Linked DNA regions of Homo sapiens: regions 1, 2, 3 and 5 are each linked to region 4. The links are contacts of gene promoters, found by promoter capture Hi-C in blood cells and fetal thymus (Javierre and others, 2016). All regions are on one chromosome and are shown on one strand. The core of a region is centred on a gene start or on the middle of the fragment in contact, and the rest is flanking DNA. Distances in the headings are between cores, read along the strand shown.

Region 1 (2,700 bases), core at 96-2,595, 180 kb after region 4:
ACAAATGTGTGGCTAGAACATTCTTGTGTATGTATCTGCTTTTGTTTTGCTGGGTTCTTTCCCCTGGGGAGAGTGATATCATAGGAGTCTCGAGAATTTAGAAGATTCTTCCCATTCGAAGCTATAACCTTGTGTTGTGGGTTTGTTTTTTCTACCGGCATTCCTTGCAAAGGCCCATAAGTTCCGTATCTCCTTGATCTGGGGTGCCTTGCACTTGAGGAAATTATTAACTGCTTTTCCATGGGAGTCAGACAGATGGGTTCAAATCCTGACTCTGCTTCCACTTGGCTTCACGTCTTGAGCAATCTGCATATGCCTCCTCCCTAGGCCTCCTCCTAATGAGAGTTGATGATTGTCCTAGTGTGGGATCAGCAGGCGAGTGACTTCATGCCAGAGAGGAGTGACTAGTGGTGATCTGTGGACTGTTTGTGACTTACCTGTGATGAGTCCAGAGGTTGAAAGATGTATTTAGAAACTATAGTCTGACATTGCCACAACATCCAGCTACCTGTCCATCTTGTTAATGATTAACTTTAATTGTATTCTACAAAAGTTTTGGTCTATGTGATATGTTGCAAAATAAAAAAATTTTAAAAAGTGAGGCCAGGCTCGGTGGCTCACACCTGTAATCCCAGCACTTTGGGAGGCTGAGGCGGGCGGATCACCTGAGGTCAGGAGTTCAAGACCAGGCTGGTCAACAATGATGAAACCCCGTCTCTACCAAAAATACAAAAATTAGGGGGCGTGATGGTACACACCTGTGTCCCAGCTACTCAGGAGGCTGAAGCCGAAGAATCACTTAAACTCAGGAGGCAGAGGTGCAGTAAGCTGAGATCACACCACTGCACTCCAGCCTGGGCGACAAGAGCAAGACTCTATCTCAAAAAAACAAAAACAAACAAATAAAAAAACTGGCTCCATTGATCCTTTGAAAAGTAGTAGCAGCTGGGCACGGTGGCTCATGCCTGTAATCCCATTACTTTGGGAGGCAGAGGTGAGCAGATCACCTGAGGTCAGAAGTTCCAGAGACCAGTGTGGCCAACATGTTAAAAACCCCTTCTTTACTAAAACTACGAAAATTACCCGGGCGTGGTGGTTGGCGCCTGTAATCCCAGCTACCTGGGAGGCTGAGGCAGGAGAATCACTTGAACCTGGGAGGGGAGGTTGCAGTGAGCCGAAATCATGCAACTGCACTCCAGCCTGGGTGACAGAGCAAGACTCTGTCTCAAAAAAAGAAAAAAAAAGAAAAGAAAAGTAGTGTAGTGCTTTAAACTAATCTCTATTTTGCAACTATTTGAACATTTTCACATTAAACAGCTTAAAAACAAACCTAATGGATATCTTCAAAAGAAACACTCTTTTAGTCAAAACACAAAGTGAAAATATTCACAATGATTATATGGCAAATGGGTGGTAGAAAGGTTTTCACACTTTCCCATAACTTACCGGTGTAATTTTGAAATTGCTTTTATGGTCAGAGAAAAAAAAAAGTGTTGGAAACTTTTTTTTTTTTTTTTTGAGATAGTATCTCTCTCCATCGCCCAGGCTGCAGTGCAGTGGCATGATCACAGCTCACTGCAGTCTCAACCTCTTGGGCTCAAGCCATCCTCCCACCTCAGCCTCCTGAGTAGCTGGGACTACACGTGCACGCCATCATACCTGGCTAATTTTTGTATTTTTTTGTAGAGATGAGGTTTCACCGTGTTTCCCAGGCTGGTTTTGAACTCCTGGGGTCAAGAGATCCACCCGCCTCAGCCTCCCAAAGTGCTAGGATTATAGATGTGAACCACCCAGCCTGGCTCCGGAAACAGATTTTTTAAAGGGAGACATAGTATCTATCCCTTAGAGTTCTGTAAGAGTAGAATATGTAAAATATGGGACCTGTGGCAATTTGTAGCCATGAGCTGTTAAGTAGTGGCCGTTTGCGCTAGATAGAAAAATGTAACCAACAGCACAAGTGCAGTAAATCAACTGACCAGTTAGTTACCTGAGTGTTGAGGAATTAAGGCTTCTATTTGTAATTGTAGCAGGTGCTGCTGACTTTTTCAGGGGATTGGATATGTACTGTGCCACAGAATTTTTTATCATTATTTGCTGACTTGAACAGCCAGAGCTTCTCATATGCTTAGAGACCACCGAGAAAGACAGTAAGTCCCCAGCAACTTAAAAACCATTGCATGTGAATGTCCACTGGGTAAGCTCCTGAGTGTTCATAATCTCAGCAAGTGAAAATATCATGTAGCTGGAATGCTTTTGCCACCTTTATAAACGATCATGATAGTAACATTTATTGGTCAGACGAGATGCCAAGTGCTTTATATACATTACCTCTCTTAATTTTCTCAGCCATTCTTTCGAACTAGGTTATATCTCTAGTTTACTTCCTGGAAAGTCAAACCTTTCTTGATAGGAAGAGCCAAATAATCTAGGTCAATAACTTGATGTCCAGTTGTTGTTGTTGTTTTTGAGACGGAGTCTCGCCCTGATGCCCAGGTGGGAATGCAGTGGCGCTATCTCGGCTCACTGCAACCTCTATCTCCCAGGTTCAAGCGATTCTCCTGTCTCAGCCTCCCAAGTAGCTGGGACTATAGGCACCTGCCACCATGCTTTGCTAATTTTTATATTTTTAGTAGGGACGGGGTTTCACCACGTTGGCTAGGCTGGTCTCGAACTCCTGACCTCAAGTGATCCCCACCGCAC
Region 2 (2,700 bases), core at 17-2,516, 140 kb after region 4:
AAATATTCACATTTTAAAATAAACTTGCTTTATCGCTCTTATAAATGCATTCAATGGAATCTCCTATCAAAGCAATTTGATACCCATCATTGTCTACTTTGAAATTACAGAAACTCGGCCAGACATGGCGGCTCACTCCTGTAATCCCAGCACTTTGGGAGGCCGAGGCGAGAGGATTGTTTGAGTCCAAGAGTTCAAAACCATCCTGGACAACATAGTGAGACGACCTTGTCTCTACAAAAAAATGAACAGAATTAGCCAGGTGTGGTGGTGTGTGCCTGCAATTCTAGCTACTTGGGAAGCTGAGGTAGGAGGATCTCTTGAGCCCTGGAGGTCAAGGTATAGTGAGCCAACATTGTGCCACTGCACTCCAGCCTGGGCAACAGAGCAAGACCCTGTCTCAGAAATATTTTTTTAAAAATTTTTTTAAAAAGAAACTCCAGAAACTGTTCTTTATGGGTTCTGAAACTTTACACCATTTCCTTTCCTCCTTGAATTCATATTCTTATTCCCACAAAAGTTCATCTTCATGCAGTAGATTTATTGATCATCTATCGTATATCTTTGCAACAAAAAAGTATATAAATTGATATATTTCTTTTTATATGATCATAGTCTCTGAATGTTAAAAAGAAAAAAATCTGGTTGGGTGCGGTGGCTCATGCTTGTAATCCCAGCACTTTGGGAGGCCGAGGTGGGTGGATCACGAGGTCAGTAGTTCAAGACCAGCCTGGCCAAATGGTGAAACCCCGTCTCTACTAAAAATACAAAAATTAGCTGGGCACGGTGGCAGGAGCCTGTAATCCCAGCTACTCAGGAGGCTGAGGCAGAAGAATCACTTGAACCCTGGTGACAGAGGTTGCAGTGAGCCAAGATCAAGCCACTGCACTCTAGCCTGGGGGACAGAGTGAGACTCCATCTCAAAAAAAAAAAGAAAGAAAGAAAAATAGCTTTTCTGGATTATTATTGCAATTATTAGTATACAGTTGATCAAATATTTCATAACCTTTGATAAATAATTTTTCAGCATAAAAAGTCCAATTTCACTGGAAATGCATCTCTTTTATTTATTTACTTATTTATTTATTTTGAGACAGAGTCTCGCTCTGTCACCCAGGGCTGGAGTGCAGTGGTGCTATCTCAGCTTGCTGCAACCTCTGCCTCCTGGGTTCATGCGATTCTCCTGCCTCAGCCTCTCGAGCAAGTGGGATTACAAGTGCATGCCACCATGCCTGGCTAATTTTTTGGATTTTTAGTAGAGACAGGGTTTCACCATATTGGCCAGGCTGGTCTTGAACTCCTGGCCTCAAGTGATCTGCCTGCCTCAGCCTCCCAAAGTGCTGGGATTACAGGCATGATCCACCACACCCTGCCTGGAAATACATCTCTTAATTAACTGGATGGAGCTTCTTCCCTCTTCCTTCAATGCCTGCAGGTGTCACAGATGAACATGCCTTCTTGCCACATGGAGACAGGACCTAGTGCCTCTGCTGCTCCTGTTTTCCATGTTTTGGGGTGAGGCTTTGTGATGGGCTTGGAAGGAATCCCAAAGTGTCACCTCCACTCGAGTCTTTGGATTCTTTCTGATTTATAGGTCAAAAGCTATTTAGTGAACATTTATCAAAAATTATCTCTATCTAGTTGCTGAGCATGATATGAAAGGAAAATAAAAACTCGGGACTCCAATTCACTCTGCCAAAAGAAAAAAACTAAGCTGAAAGCTGAGTCATGCAAGAAGCTGCCTTTCCTTTTGTTCCTAAGCAGAGAGCTAGAGGTAAAGGTAAGTGTCTTGGGGGGGATATTTAACCTACTCTGTGTTCACCTTATCTTCTGTAAAGTGCTGATTTTCTGAGCATACAAGGAATACATAATTGAAATTGACTATTCCCCTACCTGCTCCTTTTCTCTTGCAACTTGTGGATTCGATAATGTGACCATACCCTCCTTCTTTCCATACCAGCCTGTTTTTTCCCTTATATTGAAGCCCTCAAAATCATCTTTGGAGAAAGGCACAGACCTGTCTCCTGGGCATTGTCCTTAACCTTGGCAAAGTAAACTTCTCAATTGAGACCTGTCTCAGATACTTTTCAGTTTACAATCAACAGCAGCTAACATTGACTGGGCGTGGTGGCTCACTCCTGTAATCTCAACACTTTGGGAGGCCGAGGCAGGTGGATCGTTTGAGCCCAGGAGTTTGAGACCAGACTGGGCAACATGGTAAAAACCCTCTCTACAAAAAATACAAAAAAGTAGCTGGGCGTGGTGGTGCACACCTGAGTCCCAGCTACTCAGGAGGCTGAGGTAGGAGAATCACTTGAGCCCAGGAGGTGCATGTTGCAATGAGCCAAGATCAAGCAACTGCATTCCAGCCTGAGTGACAGATTGAGACCCTGTCTCAAACAAAAAGAAAAAGAAAAGAAAAGAAAAAACCCAGCAGCTAACATTATAAAAACAGAAACTGCCAAACATTATACATCTCCTGATGGACAGATCAGGAGTAGTCTTGAAAAAACCCATTGTTAGGAATGATAAATTCCTCTTCAAAGGGTTTAATTGTGTAAAGTTCTTGCTCTTTGTTCAGAAGCCCAACCTCCTTGTACTCTCATTTCTAGCCTGCAAACAACTCTTCCGCTCTGATTGTGCCCTGACATGCCCAGACATGTTCAGACATGCCTTGTACTCTAACAGACAAACTACTCC
Region 3 (2,700 bases), core at 162-2,661, 160 kb after region 4:
AAGGAAGGAAGAAAAGTCCTACAGTAGGTTGAAGTTGAAGTGTGGCGACAACACTTTGGTCACCGATGTATCTCAAGTGTCTAGAACAATGCCTGGCATCTAAGAAGTGCTTAGTAAATATTTTTTGAGGAATAAAAAAGTAAATGAGTTTGTCTCTCTCTCTCTTTTTTTGGCGGAGGAGTGGGCAGGGTCTCACTCTATCACCCAGGCTGGAATGTGGTGATGCAATCATGGCTCACTGCAGCCTCGAACTCCTGGGCCTGGGCGATTCTCCTGCCTCAGCCTCCCAAGTAGCTGGGACTACAGGTGCACACCACCAAGCTCGGTTAATTTTTTTTTTTTTTTTTTTTTTTGAGATGGAGTTTCACTCTTGTTGCCCAGGCTGGGGTACAATGGAGCGATCCCAGCTCATGGCAACCTCTGCCCTCTGGGTTCAAGCAATTCTCCTGCCTCAGCCTCCTGAGTAGCTTGGATTACAGGCATGCACCACCACGCCTGGCTAATTTTGTATTTTTAGTAGAGATGGGGTTTCTTCATGTTGGTCAGGCTGGTCTCAAATTCCTGACCTCAGGTGATCCGCTCGCCTTGGCCTCCCAAAGCGCTGGGATTACAGGCGTGAGCCACCGTGCCTGGCCTCTAATTTTTTCTTTTTTTTTTTTTGAGACATGGGGCTTTGCCACATTATCCATGCTGGTCTTGAACTCCTGGGCTCAAGCAATCCTCCCGCCTCGGCCTCCCAAAGTGCTTGGATTACAGGTGTGAGCCACCGCACCTGGCTGAATCTCTTTTTGATACTTGGATAAGTCCAAGCTTCAGCATTAGAATATCATATCTGGTAGTGTTGCCTTTATTTGAGCCAATGTTTTTTGAGGTGAGGCTGTTTCCTAGGCAATGTGAGTGATGTTCATTTGGAAAACAGGAATGTCCCTGGGTCTTGAGTAAAGTGGGTTCTGGAGCTTCCTTTGCCTAGATGCCCCTATGCTACCTGGGGGAATGAGTTAGGAGGCATGTATGGATGTGCCCAGGTCCCTGGGTGTTGGACTGGACTGTGCTGGGAGGAATGGTGCCCTCCCCACTGCGTGAACTGGGAGGCCCAGGCAGGGTGGAGGCTCCCCCAAGCCAGGGGAGGTCATGGGACTGTGAGTTGGGGGTGCAGCCCATTGACAGATGAGAAGAAACTGCCACTCAGTGGACACCCCCCAAGTGCCTTGGGGATGTTGAAAAGCTCTGTGGATTGGTGCTTGTCTAGCACAACCAGAGGAGCCACCCCAGTTCCTGCCAGGGGCTCCCCACCTCCCACACAGAGAGTCCAGCCACCTGGGGATCTACCACTAATGCCAGAACAGAGGAAAAGGAGGGGATTTGACAGACTCTCCTACTGCAGACCCCAAGAGAATCGCCTGGGACTGGATGTAATGCAACTTGCAGTCCACTCATGGTCCTCTGCATTGCACGATCACCATGGTTCCAGATACTAGATGCTGTGTTCAGTGATTGACCGGGCATTCTCTGTCGCTGCCACTAAAACATAAGCTCCACAAGCTCAGAGTTTTTATCTGTTGTTCTCAGAACAGTGCCTAGCACAGAGTAGATGCTCAGTAAGTAAATATGTGCTAAATACATGAAAGAAGCGAGGGAGGGAAGGAGGGAGGAAGGGAGAGAAGGCACCATATTCCAGACCACCGCGTCCTTTCTGAACATGCTCCACCGCCCCTAGGCTGTCTGTGTTCTTGCCCTCATCCACAAAGGTACCCACATGAATTCGTGTTTGCTTTGCTTGGATCTGTTTTGTATGGATACACTAGAAGTCACACACTATGATGTTTGAGGTTTCCAAGATAAAAAGAAAGTTCACAGTGACAATAGTTTAAGATTCTGCAAAAGAAAGGACATTACATTAACGATGTATTTAACACTCACAAAATGTAGCATAATCTCTACATAATGGCTTACGCCCAGTGCCCATGACTGTACTGGGAAGTCACTATACCCGGGAGCTGGCCAAGGAAGGCTGAAGCTTGAGGGCTGCTGACAGTGAATGTGAGGCATTCGGCATCTCCTCTTATCACTGGTCAAGACGTGTTCAGGGCTTTGCAAAGTCAAGACTGTACCTGTAGAGAATGTCCTGAAACTATAGGCAACCTGATTTTCATACAATCTGGAAACACAGGAGAAGCAAAAGGTTCCTTCCTCTCCTGTCCTGTGTGTGGTTTCTACACACTTCTCAGAAAGGGTGAAATAATGCTGCCTTCTGGCCGTTTTGCTGGTGCTTAAAAATTGAGGAGTTTCAGGATATGAATTTTGGCCATTTCTGTATTGTAAGATTATGGAGGAATTGTTTTTTCTTCTTTATACTTTTCTGTATTTTATAGTTCCTTGACAATGAACAAGTACTACTTTTTGTTTTATTTTTTCCTGAGACGGAGTCTCGCTCTGTCACCCAGGCTGGAGTGCAGTGGCGCCATCTTGGCTCACTGCAACCTCCACCCTAGGTTCAAGTGATTCTCCTGTCTCAGCTTCCTGAGTAACTGGGATTACAGGTGTGTGCCACCATGCCCAGCTAATTTTTGTATTTTTAGTAGAGACGGGGTTTCACTGTGTTGGCCAGGCTGGTCTTGAGCTCCTGACCTCAAGTGATCTGCCCACCTCAGCCTCCCAAAGTGCTGGGACTACAGGCGTGAGCCACCACGCCTGGCCCAA
Region 4 (2,700 bases), core at 155-2,654:
TGCAAATTCTCTAAAACTGTGGCTGAAAATATTTTCAATGTTGAATGTCTTTTATAAGAAATAGGATCCTAGATAAGTTCCCTTCAGATCGTATGGGGCTGGTGGGAATTCTGCCAAGGGTCACATAAGAGGCAGGACCGTGACATCCTCTTTATGATCACCCTTGTGCCTAGCCTTAAAGGAGTATCAGCAAATGTTGGTTGACTTCATAGATTAAAAGGCTCATTTTTCCCATCTACAAAAAGTATGAAACATCCTCCTCCTCCCTTTCCTAGGAGGCCAGAAAGCTGAACGAGAGATTAAATACTCAGTTAAAACAATTTAGGTGGTTAGTGTATCTTTTCCCTCTCCTTCAAAAAGATATTAACATTTCCATTTTAGTAGCTGTAATGTTTAGAATATACATACATTTTACTTGAAAGCTGCCTCATAGTCTATTTTGGTTTTGGATTTTCTTTTTTTTTTCGTTTTTCTTGAGACAGAGTTTCGCTCTTGTCTCCCAGGCTGGAGTGCAATGGTGCAATCTCAACTCACTGCAACCTCCACCTCCCAGGTTCAAGCAATTCTCCTGCCTCAGGCTCCCAAGTAACTGGGATTACAGGCGCCCGCCACCACGCCCAGCTAATTTTTGTATTTTTAGTACAGACAGGGTTTCACCATGTTGGTCAGGCTGGGTCTTGAAGTCCTGACCTCAGATGGTCCATCTGCCTTGGCCTCCCAAAGTGCTGAGATAACAGGTGTGAGCCACCGCTCCCGGCCTCATAGTCTATTTTAGAAGTTGACAGGCTATAAATAACAAGCAGACAAATTAATGAAGAACATCTGTCTTTCTGCCTATCCCGAAACACGTTGATCAGTGGGGGGTCGAGGGAAGGGTAGGAGTATGGAGAAGAGACCCGCGGAGAAGAGGGGAGAATCTACAACGGATAATGTTGTAGATATTTACAACATTTACTCAATGGTAGGTATTTTTATCCTCGTTTTACTAGTTGGAGAATTATATCATGCAGGTTTATACAATTAACAAGTGGGGGAGCCAGGAGAGAACCCATTCACTCTTTAGTTCATTCATTCATTCAGTCAGTCAACACATCTTTGGGTGTCTTCTAAATGCCAGGCACTATTCTAACCCCTAAGGATACTTCAGTAAACAAAACAGTCCCAAATTCTTCCCCTATGGAGCTTTCTCGGCGAAGGCGGGATTGGTTAGGAGCTGACAATCGGCAGCAGACGATTGTAAATGACCGGACCTTTTTTCTATTCTCCTGCCCAGCCCCCGGCCCGGCCTCCGCCTCCGGCCCTGCTCCAGCCCCGCCAGCGGCCCAGGACCCGCCCCTGGCTCCGGCCCCGCCCCTGGCTCCGCCCCCGCCCCCGCGCCGGCGGCGGCGCGGCGCCCGCGCTTCCGTATCGCTCCTCGTAGGCCGGGGCTCGGCGCGCGCACCCGCACTAAAGACGCTTCTTCCCGGCGGGTAGGAATCCCGCCGGCGAGCCGAACAGTTCCCCGAGCGCAGCCCGCGGACCACCACCCGGCCGCACGGGCCGCTTTTGTCCCCCGCCCGCCGCTTCTGTCCGAGAGGCCGCCCGCGAGGCGCATCCTGACCGCGAGCGTCGGGTCCCAGAGCCGGGCGCGGCTGGGGCCCGAGGCTAGCATCTCTCGGGAGCCGCAAGGCGAGAGCTGCAAAGGTAACGCAGCGTGGCGGGGTCGCGGGAGCGGAGCGCGTGGCCAGCTGACTGGAGGGAAAACGCCGCCTCCCTGCAGCGGTTCCCGGAATCCCCTCCGGTTCCCTCTCGCTCTCCCCGACTCCTCCTCCTCCTCCTGCCCTCCCTCTGCGTCTTGAGTATGCGGCTAGTGCGCCCTTCCTCTCTCCCGGGGCCGCACCTGCGACCCCAGGACCCCTCCCGGGCCCTGTCCTGCGCCCTCCACGCGTCGCCCCTGCTGGGAGTCCGCTTTCGTTGCACCCCTCCGCGTCCCACCCCACCCCACCAAGGATGCCCAGGATACCGGGCATTTGCCACTGCAAGATGTGAGTCGTTGCTAAGTTTGAGGGTCACATTCCTCCAGGTCCACCCCGCCTTGCAAAACCGGCTCACCAGCTGGGTGCTCAGGTTCGGGATCTCCAGCCCGCCCCCTTGAGGTCCCCTGGGATTAGCCCCCCTCGACCTGCGTCAGGGTCACAGACTGCAGCCGGGGCTGGAGCGGCCTACACCCCTCCGGATCCGCTGCGTGGAGGCAGGAGGGGGAAGGGGCGAGGGGACGTGGCCGCGGAGACAGAAGGGTGCACCCTCCCAGGGTCGGAGAGGGGAGATACTGGGAAGATACTCCGCGAATATGGAGAGGCGATCGGCACTTGCATTTCAACCCTGAGCAAATCAATCCGTTACACGCAGTAGCGAGTTGACTCCATCAGCCCGTTTATTTGGTTAGCGATGGTTATATTGACTCTGAGTATTCCCACCTCCTTTCTTTTAACATTTTTTTTTTTATTTCCTTGTTTTGTTTAGCAAGAAGTCTTAGAAACGAATATAGCATGCTTGGGCGTTGATTCAGTGGTGAGAAGTGCCGGAGCTGGCTCAGGGAGAGGTGGAGTTTCCCATGTGTGCTCACTGGCCCAGGGGCTAAGTCCCACTGCTTGCCAAGGTTTCTCAGTATCCTGTCCACCCACCCCCTATCCACCTGTGCAGGCTTGAGGGGGTGAGGGG
Region 5 (2,700 bases), core at 7-2,506, 230 kb before region 4:
AGCAGAAGAGGCAGCTCTCAAAACCTTTGGAGATTTTTGTTTTATTTCCTTGCGAAAGGAACAGGAGAGGGAGCTCTAGAGCCTTTGAACTGGAAAGGTTGCCCCAGCATACCCTTCACTCCTAAAAGTATAGGAAAATTCATTTCATTTAGAAAATAAACAACAGAAAAGCATTGTGGTAAAAACTTATAAAAAGTTAAGAAGGAAAAAATGAAAAGAAAGAGCAGAAAAAATTCCTACAAAACGATGAAAGCGTGTCCAAAAGGAATGCCCACAAAACATTTCAAATATTATGAAACAAGTTAAAGAAAATTAAGAAAATGATAGAAGCTATGAAAGAATAACATACCTCAGAATTAGAAAAAAAGCTCAGAAATAAGGTGACTGGAGAAAAAAAATGCTTGAAAAGAGGGATGGCACAGTTTAGAAAATAACTAGAAATATAAAAAGAAAGGTCTGGAGAAAGACACTGATGTAAGAAATCATAGAAATACAAAGGACAGAAGAGCATGTTAAATGACACTGTGGGACGCAATGAATTCCGGACTGTGGAAAATTCTAAGTCAAATGGCTCCGTTTTTTCAACAACAAAAATGGAGGGGTTAAAAAGAAAGAAAGAAGAGGAAATGTATAAAGAAAAGAGATTTATAAGTCATTTCAAGCAAATGCAAAGTAGGAATCTTATTTCAGTTCTGGTTCAAACAATCAATTTTTTAAAATATAAAGCAACCAGGAAAATATAAACATGACAATATTTAATAATATTAAGGGATTAATATTTTTAAGTATAATAAAAATATTGTGATTTTTTAAAAATAATGATTATCTATTAGAGATGCATACTGAAACGTTTATAAATAACAGTACTTAATGTCTGGGCTCACTACAAATTATCCAGGAACAGTGGGAACAGAGGCAGATATAGAAGAACAAGATTATCCTGTATTGATATATATCAAAGCTGATTGATGAGTACTTGATTGTTCTTTGTATTATACTCTCTACTTTTGACTGTCTGAATATTACTGTAATTCAAAGCTTAATGAACAAACAAATAATAAGGGAAGTCTTAGAGCTTGGCATCCACCAGGAAGGAATACCTTTTGCTTCTTTCCTGAGAGGGCTGTGCTACCTGGAGAGGGTTTCAATAGATGCAGACATACATTGTAACCCATCCCCTTCAGCCCTTCTTCCCATTCAAGTGTTCCAGTATATTTGTCCCTAAACTGAACTAGATGTGTTACTCTGTCACTTGCTAGAATATAAGATCTATGAAGGCAAGAATTTGTCAATTGTGTTACCATTGTATCCCCAGGACCCAGAATAGTGCCTGGCACGTAATAGGCCTTCTGTAAATATTTGCTGTTTAATTGAGTGAATCGTCATGACTGATCCCAGGACATAATCCCAGGCTGTAACTACCACTGTGTGTTTTTTCTTGGAGAGAAGAGGGAGAATTCTTTACTTTGTAGACCTAAGCTTGGGTTACCTGCAGAAGTGGCCTCTAAAATGTGAGATAAACAATGTCTGACCTTGTAGCAATGGAGAACTTCAGGCAGCTGCTGAGCTGCTGAAGGTCCACAGAGTGTGAAAGGACTGAGCAATGTGACTAATGATTGCTTCCCTTTGCAAAGTATCCAGTATCCAGTATTCAGCCAATAAGCCTTACATTAGATGTAGTGTTAAATATGTTGGTAATTGATGGGAATAAATAAATGTAAATTTTATATATTATTTGTTTACATACGTGATATTACAAAATATATATTTGGCCTTCCTCCCTGTTTCCTGGCATACAACACTTAACGTCAACATCCTTGGACTCTTCAAAGTGGTGTGTCTTATTTGTAGGGAAAAGAAAGAGAAATCAGACTGTTACTGTGTCTATGCAGAAAAGGAAGACATAAGAAATTCCATCTTGATCTGTGCCAAGAAAATTGTTTTGCTGTTAATCTGTAACTTTAGCCCCAACCCTGTGCTCACAGAAACATGTGCTGTATGGAATCAAGGTTTAAGGGATCTAGGGCCGTGCAGGATGTGCCTTGTTAACAATATGTTTACAGGCAGTATGCTTGGTAAAAGTCATCGCCATTCTCCATTCTCGATTAACCAGGGGCACAATGCACTGCGGAAAGCCACAGGGACCTCTGCCCAAGAAAGCTTGGGTATTCTCCAAGGTTTCCCCCCATTGAGACAGCCTGAGATACGGCCTCGTGGGAAGGGAAAGACCTGACCGTCTCCCAGCCCGACACCCGTAAAGGGTCTGTGCTGAGGAGGATTAGTAAAAGAGGAAGGCCTCTTGCAGTTGAGTTAAGAGGAAGGCCTCCATCTCCTGCATGTCGCTGGGAATGGAATGTCTCGGTGTAAAACCCAATCATACATTCGTTCTATTCTGAGATAGAAGAAAACTGCCCTGTGGCTGAAGGCGAGATATGCTGGCGGCAATGCTGCTCTGTTACGCTTTGCTACACTGAGATGTTTGGGTGGAGAGAAGCATAAATCTGGCCTACGTGCACATCCAGGCATAGTGCCTTCCCTTGAACTTATTTATGACACAGATTCTTTTGCTCACAAGTTTTCCTGCTGACCTTCTCCCCATTATCACCCTGTTCTCCTGCCGCATTCCTCTTGCCGAGATAGTGAAAACAGTAATCAATAAGTACTGAGGGAACTCAGAGACCGGTGCCGGTGTGGGTCCTC

What was found. The method cuts DNA at HindIII sites, captures the fragments that hold promoters and counts their contacts. A CHiCAGO score of 5 or more calls a contact.
Region 1: a contact is called between a fragment that was not itself captured here and the fragment with the promoter of IFNAR2 in region 4, in 10 of 17 cell types (neutrophils, monocytes, activated CD4 T cells and 7 more). The highest score is 13.3, in neutrophils.
Region 2: a fragment that was not itself captured here is called in contact with the fragment with the promoter of IFNAR2 in region 4 in 6 of 17 cell types (non-activated CD4 T cells, naive CD4 T cells, activated CD4 T cells and 3 more); the score reaches 8.9 in non-activated CD4 T cells.
Region 3: a contact is called between a fragment that was not itself captured here and the fragment with the promoter of IFNAR2 in region 4, in 10 of 17 cell types (activated CD4 T cells, non-activated CD4 T cells, monocytes and 7 more). The highest score is 9.9, in activated CD4 T cells.
Region 5: a fragment that was not itself captured here is called in contact with the fragment with the promoter of IFNAR2 in region 4 in 1 of 17 cell types (neutrophils); the score reaches 5.4 in neutrophils.

What each region holds. Positions count from the first base shown.
Region 1 is chr21:33,405,148-33,407,847 of GRCh38, forward strand. The region is part of intron 1 of IFNGR2 (interferon gamma receptor 2); the gene reads left to right. Among named protein-coding and RNA genes, the nearest start is that of IFNGR2, 3.1 kb to the left of the region's middle. The HindIII fragment of the contact is 6,986 bases long and covers 1-2,700 here.
Region 2 is chr21:33,364,728-33,367,427 of GRCh38, forward strand. No RefSeq gene overlaps it. Among named protein-coding and RNA genes, the nearest start is that of IFNGR2, 37 kb to the right of the region's middle. RefSeq lists enhancers at 1,676-2,700, 1,826-2,527, 2,528-2,700. The HindIII fragment of the contact is 4,490 bases long and covers 1-2,700 here.
Region 3 is chr21:33,388,623-33,391,322 of GRCh38, forward strand. No RefSeq gene overlaps it. Among named protein-coding and RNA genes, the nearest start is that of IFNGR2, 13 kb to the right of the region's middle. The HindIII fragment of the contact is 1,207 bases long and covers 809-2,015 here.
Region 4 is chr21:33,228,534-33,231,233 of GRCh38, forward strand. IFNAR2 (interferon alpha and beta receptor subunit 2) reads left to right here and starts at 1,405. Exons shown (of 9, transcript NM_001289125.3): 1 at 1,405-1,683. IFNAR2-IL10RB (IFNAR2-IL10RB readthrough) reads left to right here and starts at 1,405. Exons shown (of 13, transcript NM_001414505.1): 1 at 1,405-1,683. RefSeq lists silencers at 1,222-1,681, 1,742-1,801, 1,822-1,871. The HindIII fragment of the contact is 6,332 bases long and covers 1-2,700 here.
Region 5 is chr21:32,994,454-32,997,153 of GRCh38, forward strand. No RefSeq gene overlaps it. Among named protein-coding and RNA genes, the nearest start is that of OLIG2, 30 kb to the right of the region's middle. The HindIII fragment of the contact is 441 bases long and covers 1,037-1,477 here.